3 separate regions of the Homo sapiens genome follow, and regions 1 and 3 are each linked to region 2. Evidence: promoter capture Hi-C in 16 types of primary human blood cells and fetal thymus (Javierre and others, 2016). All regions are on one chromosome and are shown on one strand. Each heading gives the region's core, a stretch centred on a gene start or on the middle of the fragment in contact. The rest is flanking DNA. Distances are from core to core; before and after follow the strand shown.

Region 1 (4,082 bases), core at 915-3,414, 310 kb before region 2:
ACAAACTCAATATGTATGCATATATACATTTATGTACATACACAGTCATGCACCTCATAACAAGGTTTTGGTCAACAATGAACTGCATATACGACAGTGTTCCCATAAGATAATATGACATTGTTACTGTTTCTTTTCTGTGTTTAGATATATTTAGATACACAAAGACTTAACGTTGTGTTACAATTGCCTCAAATTCAGTATATGCCGTACAGGTTTGTAGCTACAGGCTATACCATATGGCCTAGGAGTATAGTCAATTATACCATCTAGGTTTGTGTAGGTACAGTCTATGATGTTTGCACAATGACGAAAATCACCTAATGATGCATTTCTCAGAAGGTATTCCCATTGTTAAAGCGACACTGGACTGTATTATATGTATTACCTATATTCTACCAATGAACTATCAAAAATTAAAATTTAAAAGATTCCATTTACAATAGCATTTACAAACCCCATAGAATACTTAGAAATAAATTAGCAAAAGCTGTGGAAGATCTATGCACAGACAACTGCAAAACAGTTGCAAATTTTCTCTTAAAAAGCCAGATAGTATGAGGTTGGTACAAAAGTAATTGCGGTTTGAAAGTAATGGCAAAAACCACAATTACTTTTGCACCAGCCTAATAAGTAGCATAGCCTTTGTGGGTCACGTTGTCTGTGACACAGACTCTTTGTGTTTCTGTGTATTCTGCTGCAACTCTTTAAAATTGTTAATAGGATCCTTCACTCACTGGCCTTACATGTAGGCTACAGGCTAAATTTGTTGGCCCATAGGCTGCAGTGCTGACCCTTGCTGCGAAATATTTCTAGGAGAAAATACTCAAGACCTAAATCTATGGAGATATATATCATCCCTGTGGCCTGGAAAAGTTAATATTGGCAAGTTGTCCATCTTGGCCAGGACCCTGAAAGATAGTCTATGTTATTGTAAGAAAGATTGGTGTCCTTGGGGGCATGGGCTTTTAAGCCAGGGTGGAATCTGCAGAAGTCTGAGGTGCCATTTCCTGTCCCTATACCTGGGAGAAAATAGCTCTCAGACAGCTGTGTGGCTTTCTGCAAAGCTCAATTAGAAGAGAAATTATCAGGCGTGGTGGCGCATGCCTGCAGTCTCAGCTACTTGGGAAGCTGAGGTGGGAGGATCTCTTGAGCCCAGGAGTTCGAGGTTGCAGTGAGCTGTGACTCCAGCCTGTGTGACAGAGTGATACGCTGTCTGGAGAAATTCATCATGGAGATATGCTGATAATTGGTGGTCCCTGCCTACATCCTCCCAGGAGACTGAGCCAGACCCGGTGTGGCCAATGGTCCACTTATAAATTGAACCATGTTAGACCTCCTAACAGTGCAAGTACTCATTACAGCTCTGACATGGTGCTAAGCACCCCAAGTATTATAAACAAGTGTAATCCATTATGCACACACGGTGAGGCTACACCAAAGTCTGGTGGTTAAATGCATGATCTGTGGAATCAGACAGCATGGGTTCAAACCCTGGCTGGGGTGAGATGGGGAACTTTCTAAGGCTTAAATGCTGTTTTACCAAATATTTTAAAAGAAGTGAAAATACACTGCCTGTTAGAAAGGGAAGTTTTGGGGTGAAGCATGTGGGCAGTTTAGAATACCTGGTGTCCACCTCAGAAACCATCACAGCCCAGATGTTATAGGTTCAGGCCTTTCCAGGGCGGGCACATAGAATGTCCTCGCCTCCAAGGTTTGGAGAGCTGCGCTATAAAGGTTCTTGCAGGCGGTGTCCTGAGCCCAGAGCTGCCTGCAGGCGGGCAGGAGTTGTGGGGGTGTTGGCATGATCTGGTGTCCTCTGTGGCGGCTGCCTGAAAAGAAGAGGCCGAGGGTTCTTTGTCCTATGTCTCTCCGAATCTTAATACCTGCCCTGCAGCAGACTCCCTGGCTGCCAGGGCACACCGGTCACCCCGGTAGACGGTGCCGCCCCGCCCTCGCCAACCCCTTATCCCAACTCCCATTTCCAGCCTTCCAGGAAGCCCGATCCCCACCCCCGCACCATGTGAGCTGCTCCTCTACTCCGCGTAGGGGAGGCTCTGCCTCCGGTGACCCCGAGGGAAAGAGCTAGAGCACCCACAGGTGCTGACTGCTGCGGCGCTGAGGACGCTGCACACCCGTTCACCGGCTGACCCAGTGCTGCTGACAACCAGCGTCCGCGGCCCCCAACCGTCGAACAGAGCGCGTGGGACCATCTGGTGCCAAACGCCTGCAACGGAGTGCAGAAGGTCACGAGGCGCTAGAGACCGGTTGGGGGCAGGCGGTTGGGCCTTGACGCTCTTTGCTGGGCGTCGTTTTTTCTTCTCGCCCCCTTCGCTCCTGTGCGCTTAGTGCACAAGCCCTGGGCTCACACACCCTTTCTCTGTCACGTGTTCCAACAGCATCTCACCTGCATCGGGCTGAACAGGAGACCTCAATTTTCTCCTCTACTCCAAGGATTCGCCGGCTCACAATTGCTCTTCATATCTTCAGCAAGCTTTGTCTGTGCCCTGCCCCTCTGTCCCCCATTGCCTACCATACCCGCTCCCACCAAGCCTGCATCACCTCGCTGTCTCTGTGCCTCTCCCCGGCCCCCTTCCAGGCCTTTCTCCCACAATTTCTGGTCTTTGCTCCTGGGTGTTCCGTCGACCCTAAGAGGCGGTGTCTGATCTGGCAGGCTCAATGCCTTTCTCTGGCGCTGTCTGCACCTCCAATATATTCAGTGACTCAGGAAGGATCCATCCTGCAGGGCCCAGATAGACTCTCCTGTTTGCCACCTGAGCAGAAAGGCACCTCTGTGAGGTCTTTGCCACCCAGTCACCCTACCAGACCCAATCAGCACGTGGGAGACGTGGATGACAGGAGGACAGAGATGGAGAGGGACCAAAAGACTACATGGGGCCTTGAAGGATGTCATAAGAACGTTGCCTTTTACTGAGAGATGGGAACCATGGAGGGTTTCAAACTGCTGAGACTGGCATGATATGACTTAGGGCTTTTTTGTTTGTTTGTTTGTTTGTTTTTTCTTTTTTGTGACGGAGTCTCAGAGTCTTCCTCTGTCATCCAGGCTGGAGTGCAGTGGTGTGATCTTGGTTCACTAGAACCTCTGTCTCCCGGGTTCAAGACATTCTCCTGCCTCAGCCTCCCGAGTAGCTGGGATTACAGGCACCCACCACCACGCCCGGCTAATTTTTGTCTTTTTAGATGTTTTATCTCAGAGAAAGAGCTTCCATGTTCTCTAACTCTTGTAAACAGGTATTCTTCAAGAAACTTTACAATATAACATTCATACACAGAAGTGTACAAATCATCTGTCTATTCCTCAATACATTTTTGCAGAATGAACAAACCTATGTAATCTAGATCAAGAAGCAAAACACAGGCACCTCAGAATCAACCTCATGCTCATTCCTAGTCACTATGCCCCTCCCAAATTTTTAACATTATAGATTAGTTTTGCCTATTTAAAAACTTTATATAAATGGAACCCTACCATGTGTCCTGTTTGTGGCTGTGTCTTTTCATTCAACACTTCATAAAATTCATCCATGTTGTTGCTTTTAGCAGCACTTTATTCTTTTATATTGCTGTGTGATGTTCCATTGAACAAATATAATTTACCCATTCTATTATTGATGGATGTTTGGCTATTAGAAATAATAATGCTACTGTGGCTAGGTGTAGTGGCTCATGCCTGTAATCCTAGCAGTTTGGGAGACTGAGGAGGGAGGATTGCTTGAGACCAAGAGTTCAAGACCAACCTGGCCAACATAGTGAGACCCCCATCTCTCTTTAAAAAAAAAAAAGAAAGAAATAATGCTGCTGTGAACATTCATGTGTATGTTTTCGACTACTTCTGAGGTAGGACGCAGGACTCGACTCCAGAGCCGGGGCTTGGACACTGGAGCAAATTGAGGACTAGCTAAAACAGGGTCAGGGTGGAAGCAGCTTTCCATCAGACACACCCACCAGTGTGCTATGTCAGTTTACATTTGTCATGGCAACATGCAGGAATTACTGCTCCTTTCCATGGCAATGACCCAATGACCCAGAAGTTACTACCCTTTTCCTAGAAATTTCAGCAT
Region 2 (3,550 bases), core at 505-3,004:
AAACAAAAAATGAAGTTAATCATAAGACAATGTCAAGTTCAGAGACCTCTGAGCCCTGTCCAGGATTATACACGTGATCTTAGTGATTTTTCCATTTTGGAGCATGTGAAAATGAGGCACAGAGCTGCTCAAGTTCACACAACCAGGAGTGCAGTGCCTGGGCCATTCCAGGTTTCCCTGTCACCAGGACCTGTAAACCTGGCCTGCCCATGGGGACGCCAGGTGTGTTGTCCCCGACAAGAGCTCAGGGGAAGGAAAGTGTGGGGTTAAATACATATCTGTGGTTTTGGAATGTGTGAACATGCAAGTGTGTCAGCCTGCGCATCTGTCACCGTGGCCAACCATGTGCCTGTTTGCTCAAGCATAGGGTGTGAACCAGTGTGTGTGTTTCTGCTTTTGTGGGTATGTGTGAGAGCGGCGGGTTGTCCTTGATGGTGTTTCTGCTTGTGTATCTGTGCCCATGGAAATCTGTCTGTGTGTACACAAGCTTGTTGGCCTTCCTATCTTTGGGACCATGTAGGAGTGCTGGCTGCATGTCTGTACCTTTGGGGTTTTTTTGTTTTGTTTTTGTTTTTGAGACAGAGTCTCGCTCTGTTGCCCAGGCTAGAGTGCAGTGGCATGATCTCAGCTCACTGCAAGCTCTGCCTCCCGGGCTCAAGTGACTCTCCTGCCTCAGCCTCCGGAGTAGCCGTGATTACAGGCGCACGCCACCACACCCAGCTAATTTTTGTATATTTTTTTAGTAGAGACGAGCTCTCGTCGGGTTGGCCAGGCTGGTGTTGAACTCCTGGCCTCAAGTGATCCTCCCGCCTTGGCCTCCCAAAGTGCTGGGAGTACAGGTGTGAGCCACCGTACCTGGCCATGTTTGGCCATGCATCTTAGAATGCATTTATGTGCGGTGTGCACATACTTGTGTGTTTCTGTATGGCCATTTGTGGGTGGGTCTTCACATAAACATGCATTTTTGTGGCCAGTTTGTGAGTGTAGATGGTGATGTGGCTATGTCTTTGACTGTATCTCTGTGTGGCCATCCATCTACATGAGCGTGCGTGGGTCTGTGTAGACATAAATGTGCTTGTTCTGGTATTTTGTGACTGGCATAAAAGGTGTTGGCTGTGTGTCCGGGTCTTTGGGTTTCTCTATCAGTGTGTCATTCTGTGTGTGTCTGCTTCTATGGATGTACATACATACATGGTTTTGTCTGGTTTTGTACCTGTATATCTGGGTCTTTGGGATTGTGTGTGGGTGTGTGTGTGTGGTGCATTTCTGGGGATCTCACCACAGCAGATAGCGCACATGCGCGCGCACACACACACACACACACACACCTCCCTCCCGTCCTCTAAAACAGCCCTGTTAAGGACCTCACGGAGCACTGGGATCGGGGGTCAGTGGGCTCCTGGGCAGTCAGGCTGGGTGACCTTCGGCCCTGGCTGGACCCAGTTCCCAGGGGGCAGCCGCCTCAGCCCAAAAGCTCTTGGAGGCGTGTGTGTTTGTGTGTGTGTGTGTTCACAACCCTGTCCTCCACAATCCTCCTAGCCTCTCCAGCCTGCCTGCTGGCTGCCTGCTGCTGCTCTCTCTGAACTGAGAGAGTTAACCAAGCGGGCCAGGGCAGTCTGGGCTGGGGGCCGCCCCCTGGCCCCCCTCCAGCCCCAGCTCCAGTTTCAGCTGCTGGTTGGGGAGGGCATGGGTGGGGTGGGGCTGGGAGGGGAGGCTGCTGGGGGCGGCGCGTCCAGCTCTGGGCCAGGGGGTCCAAAGTGCTCAGCCCCCGGGGCACAGCAGGACGTTTGGGGGCCTTCTTTCAGCAGGGGACAGCCCGATTGGGGTGAGCGTCCCCCACTCCTTCCCTCCAGGCCTCACCCCTGGTCTGGCTGGGCCGCCTATTTTGGGAGCAGGAGTGGCCAGCCCGAGGCTTCCCAGGCAGGCCAACCCAAGAGGGAGGGAGTGTGGTTGAGGCAGTGGGTTCTGCAGGGTGGGATGTGGGTGACTCCTCCCTGCCCTGCTGGTGCGTGTGCACCCTGGCAGGGTGTGGAGTTGGGACACACACGTGTGTAGGGCTGGTTGCGTCACTGCGTGGGGGCACCGGAGGCCCAGAGGAGGAGTATTGGATGCCTGACGGTGTTTACACCCCACGTCCTGCTCCAACCAGCAGTTTGGGGAGAGGTTGTTGTTCATGTCCATTCCGGCCCCACTGTGTGTGTGTGTGTGTGTGTGTGTGTGTGTGTGTGTGTGTATCCCTGCCCCAGCATGTGTTTTCTATCTCTAAGGCCCACTGGGCTGGGCCTCATGTCACTTGCCTGACATCCGATTGTGAAAGATGTCACCCAGAGGCGGGCAGAGGGGCTGTCTTTTCCTTTTCTCGTTGCTGCCCAGGGAGGAGACGGGGTGACCTTTCCCACAGGGGCAGCCTGTGGCGATGTGGCAGCTGGGCCTCACCCCGGCAGGGCTGTGCGTGACCCCCTGAGTGGGGGAAGGCAGGCTGTTGCCATGGTGGCCTGAGCGAGCAGAATTCCTCCAGGGTGAAGTGGGAGATATTTATACCCGGGGTCAGGCCGCGAGCGGGCGGGCGGAGAGGGCAGGGAGCTGGGATTTCGCGGGGCACAGTGAGGCCGGGCATGTAGGCAGGTGGGACTTGGGCGTGCCCTGCTGTCTCCTGCTCTGTGTTTGTGTGAGGCAGCGCCTCCTCTGCCCTGCCAGGGTAGGTCTGGGAATCGGGGGCCTGCTGCGGGAGGTGGAGGCCCAAGGGAGGCCCCCCGGGGACTGTGTGTCTCACCCCCGTCCCTGCTACGTTGTGTTGTTGTGTGATCCCATCGTGGAGGTTGTTTTGGTGACACTGTGTCCCCACGAAGCTGGGGATACCCGTTTCTCTAGCTTGGAGCCACCAAGATAGAGGACAAACACTTCTGTGATTCAGTCCCCAGACTGTCTCTGACTTAATCCCTTGGGTTCAAGCCCTATGTGGGAGAGCAAGGGCACACACTGCCTAATCCGTGGTGTCCCCCCCAGGACAATGGCGTCTCTTGGCCACATCTTGGTTTTCTGTGTGGGTCTCCTCACCATGGCCAAGGCAGGTGAGTGCAGGGGAGGCTGCCCGCTACCCACCTCAGCCCCAGGGGTGGCGGTGGGGACCGAAGAACCAAGTTGGAGACCCCAACCTAGACTAAGTCGGCTGGGGTACCAAGAAGTTTGGGGGTCTCCACGTGGGGTCCAGTCACAGGCTGGTATTTGGGGGAGGGGAGAGGAAGCCCCAGATCAGGCAAAGATGGGGTGGGATGGGGCTGAATCCCCGATGGGATAACTGGGTCACAGACAGCCTGCCGTGAGTCAGGGAGCTGGGGCAGTTAGGTGCCACCTGCCCCATCTGGGACAGTGCAGAGGGGGCAGCTGGGACCCAGAGAGTGTGGGCAGCCTGCCCAGACACCCTCAGACTCTAAGCCCAGCAAGGCAGAGCCTCCAGTGGTCTCCTCATGCCCCTCCCTGCCAGGACCCCAGGAAGCATTCAACCCCTGATTTCTCTCTCTTTCCAGAAAGTCCAAAGGAACACGACCCG
Region 3 (3,671 bases), core at 1,051-3,550, 290 kb after region 2:
GGACAACAGGGCCCTGCACCATGTGTTTTCCCTCCACCCCCTCCACCCCCAGCTGTCACGTCTCTGACCTGGTTTCCCATCACTTCCCTCATGCTCATTCCCACCCCACCCCCCCAGCCACACTGGCCTCCTTTCGGTTTCTCCATCACACCAAGCTTCGTATCGCCTCAGGGCCTTTGCAAAAAATGTCCCATCTGCCCCGAGTGTTCCTCTCCCAGCTCTTCCATGGAGAGCACCTACAGGCCTCGGCTCAAATGTCACCCCTTCAAGGACATTTCCCTGCTGCCCCCAGCACAGATTACCCTATTCTATCATCCAATTCTATTTCCTTCCGAAAGCGTGCCCCACATTACCTCCTATATTACTGTAGAGACTGTACTAGTGTCTCACCCCTCCCCACAACTACAATGTCAATTTCATGAAGGCAAGAACCATGTCTGCCTTTAAAAAAAAAAAAAATCAGGGTCTCACTCTGTCCCACAGGCTAGAGTGCAGTGGCACAATCTAGGCTCACTGCAGCTTTGATCTCCTGGGCTCAAGTGATCCTCTGACCTCAGCTTCCTGAGTAGCTGGAACTAAAGGCATGCACTACCACATCTGGCTAATTTTTGTATTTTTTTGTAGAGATCAGGTGTCACCATGTTACCCAGGCTGGTCTTGAACTCCTGAGCTCAAGCAATCCACCTGCCTTGGTCTCCCACCAAGTGCTGGGATCATAGGCATGAGCCAACACACCCAGCCACAATGCCTGTCTTGTGATGCTCTATCCCCAACCATCCATGGAGAGATGAAAATGCATGATCTGGTTGTTACCTTGCACTCAGCTGCCTAATCCAAGAGACATGCAGGTGACTTTGAGAAGGCTGGGGCTGTCCTGGGCCCACAGAATTCAGACAGAAGACACTGGGGAAAGGAGAGGAGGTGGGACAGGGACCAGACACAGAGCACTGGAAAGGAGAGGATGTGCAGGAGCAAGAGCTGAGCCGGATTTTCCAGACGGCGGCAGACTCTGGGGGGCTGCCTGGACTTGGGGCATTTTTTCTGGGCTGGCCCTGGACTTAGAGAATATTTTTGTGATTTAGCGGCCCCAATTTTTGTGAAATGTCCTCTGCTGACTGAGAGATTAACCTGCTTTGACTGGGCCATGCTAAAAAATGAACAGGAATTTGATATAGTCCAGTGTGGAGGTGGAGAGGGAGGGAGGTGAAGAAAGAACAGAAGGAAGGGGTAAGACACACTGAGGAGCAGATGGAAGTTACCTGAGGGGATCCTCCAAAGAAGAAAGGGTGGGCTATGCAAACAGTGGATGTAAAAAGACGCCTGGAAGAAGTTAGGACTTGGATTTCTAGGAGAGATTAATTCGACTTGTAGGAGCAGGGATTTGGGGAGAGGCAGAGGGCTCTGCTGCCTCTGAAAGAGCTCACCGAGTGCGCTCCCTCTCTCTGACTAAGGACCCCTGTGGATAAGAAAGCTCTCTGCCCTAGAGAAGAAGAGCAGTCAAGGTGCTTACAGGCTCTTTCCCGAAGACTGAAGACCTTTCCCAGGGTGGACTGTGGTGCCCTTCCCTGTGCAGGCACCCTGACCACTGTGTGTTCAGAGAAGAGGGATGTGGCACACACACCTGAGAAGCACTGGGACTCCTGCGAGACCAAGTGGGAGGTTGCCACTCCTGGGGACCATCTGATGGGAAGCAGCGGTGAAGAAAAGGGAATGGCGTCTGGATGTGGATGGAGGCAGGTGCTTCTACTGCTGCCCGGCCAGAGAGGAGCATCCCCAGAGGGTCCGTCCCTAGCCAGGCTGGAAGCTTGTCTCTGCGCATCTGGTCCCCTCTCGAAGCAGTTCTCAAAAGCCGTTGAGACACACTGCTGGGATGTGGCAACACACCAAGAGGCAAGAAATGTAAGTCCATGGTTCCTGGTAATACTGAAAAAACTAGGCTTTGGAAGTTTAAGTAAACAAAGAAATGAGAGGATATAAGGTAAGCTGTTACAACGTCACTGTCAGTTATGAGTATTCTGTTATGCTTTCTTTTGAGCCAGTCTCGCTCTTTTGCCCAGGCTAGAGTACAGTGGCATGATCTCGGCTCACTGCAACCTTTGCCTCCCGGGTTCAAGCGATTCTCCTGCCTCAGCCTCCTGAGTCACTGGGATTACACATGCCCGCCACCACACCCAGCTAAATTTTTTTGTATTTTAGTACAGACAGGGTTTCACCATGTTGCCCAGGGTGGTCTCAAACTCCTGAGCTCAGGCAATCCGCCCACCTCAGCCTCGCAAAGTGCTAGGATTACAGGTGTGGGCCATCATGCCTGGCCCCCATTACACTTTCTAGAGAGAGGAAGAAGTACTAACCTCACAGTGCAGACTGGAGACTGCACAGCACATGCGCAGATGGTCTTGACAGAGGATGCCTCCCTCTGTGCTGGGGAACTCATCCTTGCCCATTCAGTTTCCGTGGCTCAAGCAGGCTGATGTCAGCCCTTGGCGATGCTGTTGGCGTGTGTGACCCACAAATCATTCAGAGGCAGCAGAGCCAGCCTGGAGATCCGGGCTGTGACTTCAGGACAGGAGACCCTCTCTCTGCACAGGTTATTATCCTAAACTGCCAAAGGTCACTGCGTGAAGCAATTTTACTAAGAGCCACCAAACCCCTCTCTTCCCTCCAACCAAGTTCATTCACCCTTCTCAGAAGAGCCCAAGAGACCTCTGTGAGAGTAAGACAGGAGTTGGCGATGGTGCAATTTGCAGAACGCCATGTTTGTTAGCGCCTTGTCTTCATGTGGCCGGAGGGCACTCCTGAAGCTTCAAACTCCTGTAAAAACGCTTCCTGTCCAGGGAGGGTGGTATGGGAAGTCTGAGGTGGCTGGGAGAGGAACTGGCGAAGTAAGGAGTTGGAGCAGGAGTCAGAGAGACATGGGATGGGGAAACTCACAAGCAGACTCCACCCCAGTCAGGGAACCTCACTCACCGTTCCATTAAGGGCTGGAAAAGGAGGCACCGACAGGTGTCTCACAGAAGCGAATGGTAGCTGTTCAGGAGGCTGGACCCAGGAAAAAGGACATAAAATCGGGGAGGTGCCTCACCCTAATTTTTCTCAACTCCAGCAGAACCTTCTTAGAGAGCCTCACTCAATTCCACATTTCTCCTCCTCTCAGACAAGCCCGGCAGCTCCGTCCACGTCCTTTGCTGAATGGAGCCAGCGTGGTCACTTCTGCCCTATCGAGGAAGCTGAAGGCCCTGGCCCATCTCTGACAGCTCAGGGCACAGGAAAGCCTTGCCTCTGCCTAGTCTGCCCTCTGCTTCCCCACCAGCGTCATCTGTGGCCCACGGCTCTTGGCTGGACCTGCACTGAAGGACACAGCTGCTCCGAGCTACACAACAGGGTGGCTGTCCCTCCGCCCTCCATGTGTGGTGGCTGCTGCAGCAGGATACAGCCAGCCTCCTGGCTGCTATCCCACAGTGCTATGGTTGATTGCGTTCTTACACTGGAAGATAAACAGTGCTTGTGTCAAAGAAAATAGAAACAAGGCCGAGCATGGTGGCTCATGCCTGTAATCCCAGCACTTTGGGAGGCGGAGGTGGGCAGATCACTTGAGGTCAGGAGTTTGAGATCAGCCTGTCCAACATGGCGAAACCCCATCTCTACTAAAAATATAAAAATTAGCTGGGTGT

The links. The method cuts DNA at HindIII sites, captures the fragments that hold promoters and counts their contacts. A CHiCAGO score of 5 or more calls a contact.
Region 1: the fragment with the promoter of LINC01801 here is called in contact with the fragment with the promoter of FXYD1 in region 2 in 6 of 17 cell types (naive CD8 T cells, erythroblasts, non-activated CD4 T cells and 3 more); the score reaches 8.4 in naive CD8 T cells.
Region 3: a contact is called between a fragment that was not itself captured here and the fragment with the promoter of FXYD1 in region 2, in 13 of 17 cell types (M0 macrophages, total B cells, monocytes and 10 more). The highest score is 13.6, in M0 macrophages.

What each region holds. Positions count from the first base shown.
Region 1 is chr19:34,830,705-34,834,786 of GRCh38, forward strand. It overlaps LINC01801 (long intergenic non-protein coding RNA 1801), which reads right to left and starts at 2,165. Exons shown (of 6, transcript NR_033982.1): 1 at 2,021-2,165; 2 at 1,626-1,832. The HindIII fragment of the contact is 2,823 bases long and covers 1-2,492 here.
Region 2 is chr19:35,137,070-35,140,619 of GRCh38, forward strand. It overlaps FXYD1 (FXYD domain containing ion transport regulator 1), which reads left to right and starts at 1,755. Exons shown (of 8, transcript NM_021902.4): 1 at 1,755-1,825; 2 at 3,007-3,071; 3 at 3,528-3,550. The coding sequence starts at 3,011. The HindIII fragment of the contact is 25,239 bases long and covers 486-3,550 here.
Region 3 is chr19:35,431,238-35,434,908 of GRCh38, forward strand. LOC101927522 (a long non-coding RNA gene) reads right to left here and starts at 3,416. Exons shown (of 7, transcript NR_187751.1): 1 at 3,083-3,416; 2 at 2,352-2,601; 3 at 1,622-1,865. RefSeq lists an enhancer at 1,657-2,856. The HindIII fragment of the contact is 997 bases long and covers 1,803-2,799 here.